Regions from separate parts of the Homo sapiens genome. Here regions 1 and 3 are each linked to region 2. The links are contacts of gene promoters, found by promoter capture Hi-C in blood cells and fetal thymus (Javierre and others, 2016). All regions are on one chromosome and are shown on one strand. The core of a region is centred on a gene start or on the middle of the fragment in contact, and the rest is flanking DNA. Distances in the headings are between cores, read along the strand shown. Region 1 overlaps LOC105373056 (a long non-coding RNA gene). Region 2 holds the start of TP53BP2 (tumor protein p53 binding protein 2). Region 3 overlaps SUSD4 (sushi domain containing 4).

Region 1 (3,952 bases), core at 1,409-3,908, 260 kb before region 2:
CAAAAATTAGCCAGACGTGGTGGCATGCGCCTATAATCCCAGCTACTCGGGAGGCTGAGGCAGGAGAATTGCTGGAACCTGGGAGGCAGAGGTTGCAGTGAGCTGAGATCGTGCCACTGCACTCCAGCCTAGGCAACAGAGCGAGATTCCAGCTCAAAAAAGAAAAGAAAAAAAGCCAAACTTGAATGGATTGAATGGATGAGGAGTTGCTTCTTATGAATGAGCAAAGCAAGTGATTTCTTCATATGGAATCTGTTCCTGGTGAAGATGCTGTGATCATTATTAAAAGACAACAAAGGATTTAGAATATTACATAAACTTAGTTGATAAAGCAATGGCAGAGTTTGAGAAGATTGACTCCAATTTTGAAAAAAGGTCTACTGTGGCAAGATGTTATCAAACAGCATCATATGCCATGGAAAAAATCTTTGTGAAAGAGTCAATCAGTGTATCAAACTTCATTGCTATCTTATTTTAGAAAATTGCCACAGCCACCCTAACCTTCAGTAACTACCATCCTGATCGATCAGCAGCTGTTAAATTGAGGTAAGACCCTCTACCAGCAAAAAGATTATGATTCACCAAAGGCTCAGATGATTAGCATTTTTTAGCAATAAAATATTTTAAAATTAAAGTATATCATTTTTTAGACATAATGCTATTGCACACTTAATAGACTACAGTTTTATATAAACATAACTTTTATATGCACTGGGAACCAAAACTTACTTGTGTCACTGGGTTTATTGCACTACTTGCTTTATTATGGTGGCCTGTGTGGTCTAACTCTCAATATCTCAGAGGTATTTCTGTATTTATGGGTAGAGGGAAATGATGCCTCAAATTACTTTCAAATGGTTCAAGTAAATAGATAGAGAATGAGGTTAATATAGCAAATACAGCAAATGTTATTAATTGATGAATTTGGTTGAAGGGTATACCAGAGTCTTCCTTGTACTATCTTGTAATTATTTCAGAAAAAAAATTTAAAGGTTGCCTAAACTTTCTGTATGTTTGTATACTTATAATATCCTATGACAAAGATAAAGGTATACAAGTCACTATTTTTTTTTAGACAGGGTCTCACTGTGTTGCCCAGGCTGTAGTGCAGTGGCATGATCATGGCTTACTGCAGCCTTGACCTCCTGGGCTCAAGGAATGTTCCTACCTCAGCCTACCAAGTAGGGACTACAGGTGTGCGCCACCATGCCTGGCTACTTTTTAAATTTTTTGTAGAGATGAGGTCTTACTATATTGTCCAGGCTGGTCTTGAACTCCTGTGCTCAAGCAATCTTCTCACTTCAGCTTCCCAAAGTGCTGGGATACAGACATGAGCCACCATGCCTGCCAAATCATTAAATTTTGAAGCTTTCTTCTCCCTAGTGCTTTGGTCTTATTCTTAAAGCTTCCAATATGTCCTTTCTTTTGTAGCTTTCTTTTGGAATCTAATGTTTGCACAGTAGATGTGAAAACTGCAGAAAAAACTAAGTATGACTAAAGGTTAAGGGAAGTGGGGGCAACTGAAGCAAAGAAATTAATTGGTGGTGTTGAGCTTGTTAGAATTGGCATCCTTTCCCCATTCACTTGGCATGTGAACAATTATCATTTTACCTATGATTGTTGCAAAAGTTTTGAAGTTGTTCCTTTGATTCTCCTACTTTGGGTTGTTTAGCATTCAACATATGCTTTATGATTGACTCTTTCTGACATGTTTGCATATTTATAATATGTTAGTTTTATCTCCACTAATAGATTGTAATTTTACTTTTCTTCTATGATATTGCTATCTCTTCATAGAACCCATTACAACTTAGTCTTAATTAAATTCATTTTCTACCTTTTTAATTAAAACTAGATGGCTTCTTGATAGGTTAGGTTGAAATATAATTTTTGTAAATAGAATCATGCTTTAAATTCATTATGGAAACTCATTTAAAGGAAACCCATAGAAAATCCTTTAAAATATGAATCATCACTCTCTAACTTTATTTTGTAAATCCAATCATTACTTGTTTGCTTGAAGTGGACACATGAAAAGCCTTCCCACTCCCTTAACTCTCCACTGGCAGACAGCTAGTTAACATCCAGATTAGGTGACCTAACAATAGAATACATTGAATAGAATAATACTGATCTAACAATAGAGTAAATACAATGTAGGGAACAATTTAAACCAGTTCCTGCCAGTAGCTCATTCAAATGGTTCTGTTTATGTATATTGGATTTGTGCCCTTATATCTCCTACATTTTAAAATTTATTTAAGTTCATATTTATTTATTTATTTGAGACAGGGTCTGACTCTGTCACCCAGGCTAAAGTGCAGTGGCATGATCTCAGCTCACTGCAAATTCCGCCTCCTGGGCTCAAGCCATCTTTCCACCTCAGCCTCCCAAGTAGCTGGGACTACAGGTGCATACCACCACAACTGGCTAATTTTTGTATTTTTGTAGAGATAGGGTTTCACCATGTTGCCTAGGTTGGTCTGGAACTCTTGAGCTCAAGCGATCTGCCCGCCTCAGCCTCCCAAAGTGCTGGGATTACAGGTGTGAGCCCGTACATATTTTTAATAAGAGAATTTCAAAGCAAATGGTTTCTTTGTTTCAATTATTAAAATCAATGTTTGTTTTGGATTTGTTTCAATTATTAAAATCAGTGCTTGTTTTGGATATGCTTTCCAATCACAACAATTATTTGTAACTAATACAAATATTTGAATTCAAGAGTAGTTCTAGGTTCTAAATATAGTTTTATGCCAACAGACTACAATAGGACCTTTGCAAGACAGTGGTCTCGGGTATGAGATGGACACATGCTTCTTAAGATCTGTGTGTTTCTAGTTTCATATTTGTAAAAGGGGAGAATATTACCTCTCTTATATCACACAGTTGAAATGAGGATGAACTGAGACTGCAAATGGGTGGGGTTTGGAATGCCTCTGATTAAAGGTGTTAAAATCAATTTACTACAATGAGGACTCTGTTATTCTTCTGCTTCCCTGGTTAGGGTGTGTGTTGAGGAGATGGGGGGTGTTGGGTGTGGTGGGACATGGTGAGGGGTGATCTAGCCTATTCAATGGTACCTCCATAGGAAGATGGGCTTTATATATTAAAAAAGAAGCTAAAACTAGATATTATTTTTCTATTTGCTAGCAGATTTGTAATATATTTAGAAAGAATGAAGGAAGAGCTCATATCCTAACTAAAAAGAGATTTGAAGTTTCTATGGATTGCAATTAACTGTGTTTTTAAAGATCCATCTTTTTAAATATTTATTTATTTATTTAAGACAGAGTCTTGCCCTGTCACCCAGGCTGGAGTGCAGTGGTGTGATCTTGGCTCACTGGAACGTCCACCTCTCAGATTCAAAAGATTCTTGTGCCTCAGCCTCCCAAGTAGCTGGGACTACAGGCACAAGCCACCATGCCCGGCTGGTTTTTATATTTTTAGTAGAGACGGGGTTTCACCATGTTGGCCAGGCTGGTCTAGAACTCCTGGCCTCAAGTGATCTGCTTGCCTTGGCCTCCCAAAATGCTGGGATTACAAGCGTGAGCCACTGCACCCAGCCTAAAGATCCATCTTTTGACTAGATAAGACATTTTCTATCATGACTAATATATGAAATTTTATGATTAGATAAATTTTTTAAAATTTAAAGTTTGACTCCAGAAAAAGGTAGTCCACTAGACTTTCAATTCAGCAAGTGTTTATTGATTGCTACATGGGTAATGCTAGGAAGATACTAAGATATAAACAATATTTCCCACCCTGGGGATGATATGAATCTGGCTGCAGTACCAGTCACCACATTGATGGCCTGAATTTATTCCATTGACCTGGCAGACTGGACTGGTGTTTCCTTATTTTCTCATGTGCAGTTTTCCTAAAGTTGTATATTCAGGAAGAAAAGCTTAATTTCCTGGACTATTCTGGACATGTGATTCAGCTGCCTCTG
Region 2 (3,892 bases), core at 391-2,890:
GCAGGTATTTAATAAATATTTACTGAATGAGGGATGAATTTATTTTGCTTAACTCAGTATAACCCTCTTAAGAAAACAAGACTATAAACCAGATTTTTTGAGAACGTTAAATTCTTTTTTTTTTTTTCAGATGGAGTTTCACTCTCGTTGCCCAGGCTGAAGTGCAGTGGGGTGATCTCTGCTCATTGCAACCTCCGCTTCCCAGGTTCAAGAGATTCTCCTGCCTCAGCCTCCCGAGTAGCTGGCATTACAGGCATGCGCCACCATGCCCGGCTAATTTTTATATTTTTAGTAGAGACAAGGGTTTCACCACGTGGCCAGGCTGGTCTCGAACTCCTGACCTCAGGTGATCTGCCCGCCTCGGCCTCCCAAAGTGCTGGGATTACAGGCGTGAGCCACTGCGCCCGGGCGAGAACGTTAAATTCTAGTTGAATTAACCGTAATTTAGTATTTCCAGATACAGTATCTGGGATGGTGCAATAGGGAGTTCGATGGAGATTCTGGTAAGGGATATGGTGGGCTAAGAAAGAATTGTCTGTTCTTGATACTAGATAAACCCAGGGGATTTACCCCACTTCAGGTTCTAGAATCATGTATAAAGGCAGAGAAAAGTGATTCTGAGTGAACTTGCACTGACAACTTACTAGAACAAAGCTTCCTGGAGTTAGGGTTCCCGCAGTATGTGTCTCTCTGGAAGGTGGAATAAAAGCCTGAACCCGCTCTGCTACTCTTTGGAAGGCAGCCCTGCCATTTCCCTAGGCCTTGGCCTCCCTCCCTGGAAAAGGATGGTATCCACCGGCTCCCCGTATCGGAGGCTGTTTGCAGGGTGTTCCCAGCACCCCCCAGGGAAGCTCCTCAGAATGCTGCCTGACACATTTTTACAAAATTTATTTTTATTGTGGTAAAACATACACAACATAAAAGTTATCCCTTTATCCAGTTTGCGGTGTACGTTTGTTAACCTTACAGCAAGTAACACATGAGTTTTAAATTAGAATTTGGACAACGGCAAATGAGATGAAAGGCGAACAATCCGAAAGCCGGATCACTGAGGAGCTCTGGGAACGCGCCGCGAGCTGAAGCCACACGGGGAACTCCATTTTGTCGGGACAGGGTCGGTCCTGGCCGCCTCCAGGGAGTCGGGTAGTTTCCGCGGCGTGGCCCGGGCCTCCCCTGAAGTCCGTCCGCCTCTCTCCGCCTGGCCCAGCGGCGCGGCCGCCGGAGGACTCTGTCCACGCGCCCAACGTCGGGCGCCCTGTTCTGAAGGCAAAGGGTCCCCTGCCTCGCACGACTCGGAGCCGCCGAGGAGGTGACGGCGGCAGCCCTGGGGCGGCTCGGTGCCATTCACTACCATCCTGTTTTCCTGAGGCGCGGCCTTCCAATTGCCCCGGCTCCGCTAGGAGGCGCGCGCTCCAGCCGCTCCGCCGCGCGGCCCCGACCGCACTTCAGTCCGGGGCGAAGAAAGAAAAGGCGGCCGGCTCCCGCCGCTCCCCGTCTACCCAGCCGGGCCCGCGCAGGCGCGCGCAGCTCCCGTTCCCGCGGCCGCCCCTCCCCCAGGCCGCCGGGCGCGCCGCGGGCGGGGTCGGCGCGGGGGGCGGAGCCGGCACGGGCTCGGCTGGGGCCCGACCCGGGATTAGTTGGTTTCGGAGCGGAGGAGGGAGCCCCGACCGTCACGAGCGTCGAAGAGACAAAGCCGCGTCAGGGGGCCCGGCCGGGGCGGGGGAGCCCGGGGCTTGTTGGTGCCCCAGCCCGCGCGGAGGGCCCTTCGGACCCGCGCGCCGCCGCTGCCGCCGCCGCCGCCTCGCAACAGGTCCGGGCGGCCTCGCTCTCCGCTCCCCTCCCCCGCATCCGCGACCCTCCGGGGCACCTCAGCTCGGCCGGGGCCGCAGTCTGGCCACCCGCTTCCATGCGGTTCGGGTCCAAGATGATGCCGGTAAGTGGGCGAGCGGCCAGGGCGTCGGGCCCGGAAGTGTGCGGGGTCGCGTGCCGGGGGCTGGTCCGCGCCCTCGGGCGCGTCGGGGAAGGAGCCTGGGGGCCGCAGCCCGCGCGGAGGGGCCGGGGCTTTCCGAGCTTCGAGCGGGTTTCAGGAAGGGGAGGCTCCATCCTCTGGGCTCTGCGCCCACAGCCGTCGTGGGGGCGCGGCGAGACCCTAACCTCGAGGCGGGTTCCTCCAGCTGCTCCGGAGTCAGGCGAGCCGCCCGCGAGCCCAGCAGCCACTCAAACTTTTCGTCTTTCACTGGGTCTTGACTTTTTTGCAGTTCTTGAAGGTCAAGAATACGGGAACCGGGGACCTTGTTCTTTGCTGTGTCTTTTTACTTTTTACTGGAGTGAAACATACGTTACTGGAACGGGTACCTTTGCTTTGTTTTTAATTGAATTTCGATCTTGATATCCACAGTAGCAGCTAAGTCACCCTTACCTCTTTGTGGAAAGGGGTTTTGGTAAATGCAATCTCGGAAGTTTTAGATTGCAGGAAAGCGTACGTGCCTGGCTCCCTTCGTTTCCCACAGCTTTTAGCAAGACCTCCGGAGAGGATTAGTGCCTTCTTTAGGAGCTCCGCAGGCTTTTGACACGGCCACCAGGCCACAGATGAACAGCAGGTTTGAGACATTTCAGAAATGTCTCTGTCATTCAGCGATCGCGGAATGGAGGTTTGCGGTGTGTTGCGGTGGCTTCTGCAGACTTCAGTAGCGAGTTTCTTCGTGGAAGTTGTATTTGCACCTCTCCCACTGAAGTGGGGACATCTTGCAGGCATCCTATGCTTGTGGCTCCATTTGTTCAGACAAAGAAACAAAAAGCTTTTACTTTTATGAAGTCTGTGGAATGGAGTGATGACAAAGTTTGCAGTCATACATACAGAGTATAATATGCTGTTCCCTGGCCCCCTGCTTGTGTCATGGAGGGCGTCCCAAACTCTCACTGGGTCGACTTAACAATTCACTAGAATTAGTAATTGGGTTTAGAGGGTTTGGGATATTTTGTCCTGCCAGGATTCAAGGAATTTGAAAGTATTAATAGCATTATGCATCTTATTTTAGTTTAATGCCTGGTTATGAAATCAGGTTTGTAGTGTGAATACCCAATATTGAAATAATGGACCATAGATAAGGGTGATGGATTTTGCTGTTAAGATTTTTATTTCCTGGATTTACATTTCTTTGTGTTGAAGTAACTTGTACGGATTGTCTGTGAATTTTTCCTAACAGTAGGAGCAAGAGAAACACGTATCAGTTGTTGCTATATGGTTTCTTCCTTGTTTTTTGTCAAGGTATCCTTTGGAGATACCCTACCAAGGTATCCGTTGTGTAGCCGAATTCATAAAACGTTATGTGGCTCTTGAGACTATATTCAATTTAGCAGTATGGTTCTTCTGATTGCCTTTCTGATGTCAGAATACAATCCTAACACAGACTCAGTGTGGTATGATGGCACTTACACCAGCTTTGAAGTCAGACTAACACTTCAGTATTGCTCAGCTACTACCTTTAGTGACGTAGCCACTTAAAAAAAACTTGTCCCTCAGTTTCATCATCTGTAAAATGGGGATAATAGTACTCAGCTCTTAGGGTGGTTTGAGGATTAGAGTTATGTTTATGAAGGAAGTGTGATTAGTACAGTGTCTAGCTTGCAATAGGCGGTAGATAAACGCCTCTGAATTTCCAATGTTGGTTAAAGTGGAGATTCTCAGATTTGTGATATATAAAAATATGAAATAATTTTTCATTTAGTAGACTCATGTTATATGTGTCTTTATACTGTAATATTTTGGATATTTGAAAATAAAACTTTTATTAAGTATATTTCTCATCTTTGGCTTTTCATATGCTTGGATTTTTATTCCAACATAAATGTAATTTTGTTACATTGCTTTGGAAAATTCTAACCAATTTAT
Region 3 (4,039 bases), core at 1,415-3,914, 480 kb after region 2:
GGGGCAGTAGGATCGATCCCAATCCCGAGGAAAACCAGAGAAGTAGCTGGGGGAGACGGTGCCACATTGTGAGATTCCCAGAGTGAAATGTATAGGCCCAGGGAAAAGTGTCTTCGCGGCCCCGAGACGCGGGGAGGCTCTAGACTTTCCTGTGGTGGGCACAGCTGCTGAATCCCGGGGACCGGCGCGGAGCCAATGTGCGCTAACCCCTGCCCTCCCTCCTGTCCTCCATCCCCCAGCACGCGCAGCATCCCACGGCGGCTGTTACTCAGTGCACCCGGCTCGGGGGAAGGCGGGGGACCTCGCCGTGGGAAAGGGGGCGGGGGCCGCGCGGGGGAGGAACCAGGATGGAGCCTGGGAAGCCGAGGCGCCGGGTCCCAGAGCGGAGGAGGGGGAGCGTGGCCCCCGAGCCCGGACAGACTGGCTTATTGTGGTGTTCCGCTTCTGGTTGCAGACTCTTGCAAGCTGGATGCCCTCTGTGGATGAAAGATGTATCATGGAATGAACCCGAGCAATGGAGATGGATTTCTAGAGCAGCAGCAGCAGCAGCAGCAACCTCAGTCCCCCCAGAGACTCTTGGCCGTGATCCTGTGGTTTCAGCTGGCGCTGTGCTTCGGCCCTGCACAGCTCACGGGCGGTGAGTGACCCAGCTGTGGTGGGAGGGCCTGGGGATGGCCCAGAGGGGAGAAAGAGCCTAGCTGCCAGGACAGCCCTGCACCCCTCCCCCATACACCCAGACTTCAGGAGGATCTGACAACGCGAGGGTGCCTGCGTCCCAGCCTATGGCCGCCCTTCTCCGAAACCGCTGGAGTTCCCTGAAAATTCCCATGTGGAGCCCGCACAGATTCACACACCCACATTCTGTCTGGAGCTTCCCACCAGCCTCCGGGCCTGGCTTCTCCCAAGGAAAGACAATAAAGCCTGGCCCATTATTCCCACTTTGGCCAAGGAAGCGGGGGCGGGGGGGGGAGGGGTGGGGGGTGGGGGCAGTGGGGAGTGGTGTATTTGTGGACCTCTTGCCAATGCCTTCAGCAGATAGAGGTCAGATTTCAGCCTCTGGATTTAAGCAAGAGTTTAAGAACCACCTTTGAGAATGTGAAGGGTCTGGAAACGTGGTCAGACTGGCTGCGGGGCAGGTTTATTTGAAAGTTAACTTTCCCTTCCCCTGTGTGTGCAGCATGTATGTGTATGTTGGGGGCGTGGAGGAGGTGCAGAGGTATTCTTTCAGGTGTGCCTCTGACAGATTGCTTTGCTCATCGAGGTATGATTTCAGGGAATAAAGTCAGTTGCTCTTCTATGAAGTAGAAGTTAGCTGAAATAAAATTGATAGCCTCAGCCTCCGTGGGCGGCTAATCTATAACATATTTGGTTCTGGGGGAGGGGTATCTTTTAGTTGTGGTAGAGGAAGACAGATGGAGTTCCTGTCTGAATTTGAGAGCCTAGTCTCCCTGCCTCCACTGCTCATTGCTGTCCATCATTCCTGTCCATTGCAAACGTTCTCTAGAGCTTGCTGATGTGGACGTTAAAAGGAGCTGAGATACTGTTAATATATAAATAAATTATCTTTGGTTGAAAAGCAAGTATTGACTGATGTAAATAAACCATTTTAGCGTTTTAAAATATTGCTGTTTCAGAGAATTCAAAGGTGAAAATGGAAAAAAAATGAGTGAAAAATTAGCAAAAGTGGAGGAGAGGTGTAATAAGTTGGGCTTTAACACAGAGTAATCAATAACCCAGGCATTCCACTTAGACATCTGAAAGATGCCCAGAGTATAAAGGTGTTTATTGCAATGTGCATATCTATCAAAATTAGTGAGAAAACACTTGCTTTGGGTGGACATTGGTTTTTATTTTTATTTTTGTATTTTTTTTTTAAGAAGGAATAACTTTTTGGATGCTTGTAGTTTTTTATAGAGATTTCTCTGAGGCAAGCTTCCTCTTCATGGAGGAGAAGGTCAAGTGTGAGGCCAGGCCAGCACCTGTGTGCCCTGCCAGGGCTCTGGTCACAGCCTCTAATCTGCCGTGGACACCAGCTCTGCTTCACATATGAGTGGGAATAGACGGGCAGAACAGTATTGCGTGGATCTGGATCATTTCCTCCCCTCCTCTCTGCTTTTGCCTCCCAGTTCTAGCTTTCATTCTCTCAAACCAGGTCCACATGATTTTCCATCTTCTTGGTCCATTTCTCTTATGTAGATGACAGACTAGTTAATCAAGGTTCATTTACATTTGTCTTGACTATTGTTATTGGATGGGTGAGGTCTGAGCACAGCTGAGATTTGTTTTGTGCTCTTGGTTCTGCTTGGTCGTGTTTACAGAGCATCCTCCTCAACATTTCAGAGCTCAGTGTACATCATGGCCACCTCGGTCTTATGACAGTCACCTATGAGGTTCCTATAGCATGTCTTTTTTCCCTGCCTTCCTGTGGGGGATCATGCCAGGCAAAAATATCCAGAGCCTTGGAGAAGAGGATGAGAGTAAGGGTTGCCTGTCACCTGTCAGTCTCAGAGCTCTTTCTTTTTAGGCACTCATATGCTGCAGGAAGCTAGCCATCAGCTGCGTTTCACTTTGAACTCCTTCAGGCTGAGAGTGTGATTTCTGGAAGAGTATTTATCACTTCACAGTTCCTCTATGAATAAACCGTTTGGGCAAGCAAGGGTGGTGGGGGATGTCCTATAGAGTTCATTATACAGAGATTTTCTTTTTTAGGAAAGAAATGCACATGGAGGCTCCAATAAGGCAATAAAAGCAAATACACCTTAGCTCTAGACTTGTGCTTCTAAAACTTTAATGTGCATACAAGTCACCTGGGATCTTGTTAAAAGGTGGATGCTGATTCATTTGGTCTGGAGTGGGGCCTGAGACTCGGCATTTCTAATAAGCTCCCAGGTGAAGCAGTTACCACTGATCCAAGGACCACACTTTGATTAGCCATGCTTGAGACCAAGGCATTCCTTAAAATAAGTTGCTTCTGCTCCAGACTTTCTGCCATCATTCTCAATTACTGAATGCAAATGGCCTGTGAGGAGCAGAAGTCTCACCCAATATCTAATCTTCAGGTGATACACAGAGCTGAAAATCAGCCCTCGGAGAGTGCTTTTTTTTCATCCACAAAAAAGTGTATATTTAATGGACACTGTTCTGAAATGTGGATTTTCATTTTTGATTGCTTTCAATGGAAAAGGAACACCGCAATGGCAAGATATAATCGTCTCAGCTAGGAGAAAAAAAAAGCATGTGCCCAGTACAAGTATTGAAGAAAAAGCCTGAACTAGAAAGGCAGAAATTGAGAAAATGATCAAAGAAAAGTAGGAACAGGAACTCCATCAAAAATGAAATGCTTTGTCTTAGAAAGCCAGAGCTCCGATTCAGTTCTTTGAACCCTAGGGAAGCTTTTATGAGCCTGACTTGTCCTGAGATGATGTTTGGGTGGCTCTCTCCAGGTTGTCTTTTGTCGTTAAGGAAGAGTGCCCTCATTTGGGGCCACTGAGACCAAATGCTGTGCAAGAACTCATATTAGGTTGGTGGGGAGATATAGGACCCTGCCGTGTGTGGAATCTGCATGGAGCATGGCTTCAGCTGTTTCTCCCCTTTCTGCCCCAGTACACTTGACCAGAGACCTGCTGGGCTTTGAGGGATGCCCAGAGTGCCCCCCACCCCCAGGCTTCAAGGAAGAGAGCCAAGAGTTTGCTCAACAAGTGACTCCTTTAAGGTGAATTCTTTAGCACATTTCTGTATTATAAATAACTCAATCAGGCTCTGCCACTTGATAGCTTTGGGGTCTCAGGACTTGGGAGCCTCAGCTTCCTCATCTATAAAATGAGGATGACGGTGCCTAATTTATAGGGTTGGTGTGAAGGATGGAAATCATGTAGGCACTTAGTAAATGTAAATAATAGTAGGGCGGAGGGGGCTAAGACAATGCCGTGATTTTGGAGACTTTTGCTTTATTCATTCAATAAACATTGAGTGCCTACCCCGTCCTGAGCCAAGCACTGTTGCATAAATGTTATTTTTACCTAGAACTCTCTCTTACTCA

The links. The method cuts DNA at HindIII sites, captures the fragments that hold promoters and counts their contacts. A CHiCAGO score of 5 or more calls a contact.
Region 1: a contact is called between a fragment that was not itself captured here and the fragment with the promoter of TP53BP2 in region 2, in 2 of 17 cell types (total B cells and naive B cells). The highest score is 6.5, in total B cells.
Region 3: a contact is called between a fragment that was not itself captured here and the fragment with the promoter of TP53BP2 in region 2, in 1 of 17 cell types (fetal thymus). The highest score is 5.1, in fetal thymus.

Annotation. Positions count from the first base shown.
Region 1 is chr1:224,107,357-224,111,308 of GRCh38, reverse strand. LOC105373056 (a long non-coding RNA gene) reads left to right here. Exons shown (of 3, transcript XR_007066897.1): 2 at 1-546. It also overlaps the pseudogene RN7SKP49. Among named protein-coding and RNA genes, the nearest start is that of FBXO28, 4.8 kb to the left of the region's middle. The HindIII fragment of the contact is 2,502 bases long and covers 1,408-3,909 here.
Region 2 is chr1:223,843,695-223,847,586 of GRCh38, reverse strand. TP53BP2 (tumor protein p53 binding protein 2) reads left to right here and starts at 1,640. Exons shown (of 18, transcript NM_001031685.3): 1 at 1,640-1,933. The coding sequence starts at 1,907. RefSeq lists a silencer at 1,503-1,812. The HindIII fragment of the contact is 2,144 bases long and covers 657-2,800 here.
Region 3 is chr1:223,359,876-223,363,914 of GRCh38, reverse strand. It overlaps SUSD4 (sushi domain containing 4), which reads left to right. Exons shown (of 9, transcript NM_017982.4): 2 at 455-637. The coding sequence starts at 490. Among named protein-coding and RNA genes, the nearest start is that of SUSD4, 2.3 kb to the left of the region's middle. The HindIII fragment of the contact is 1,460 bases long and covers 1,935-3,394 here.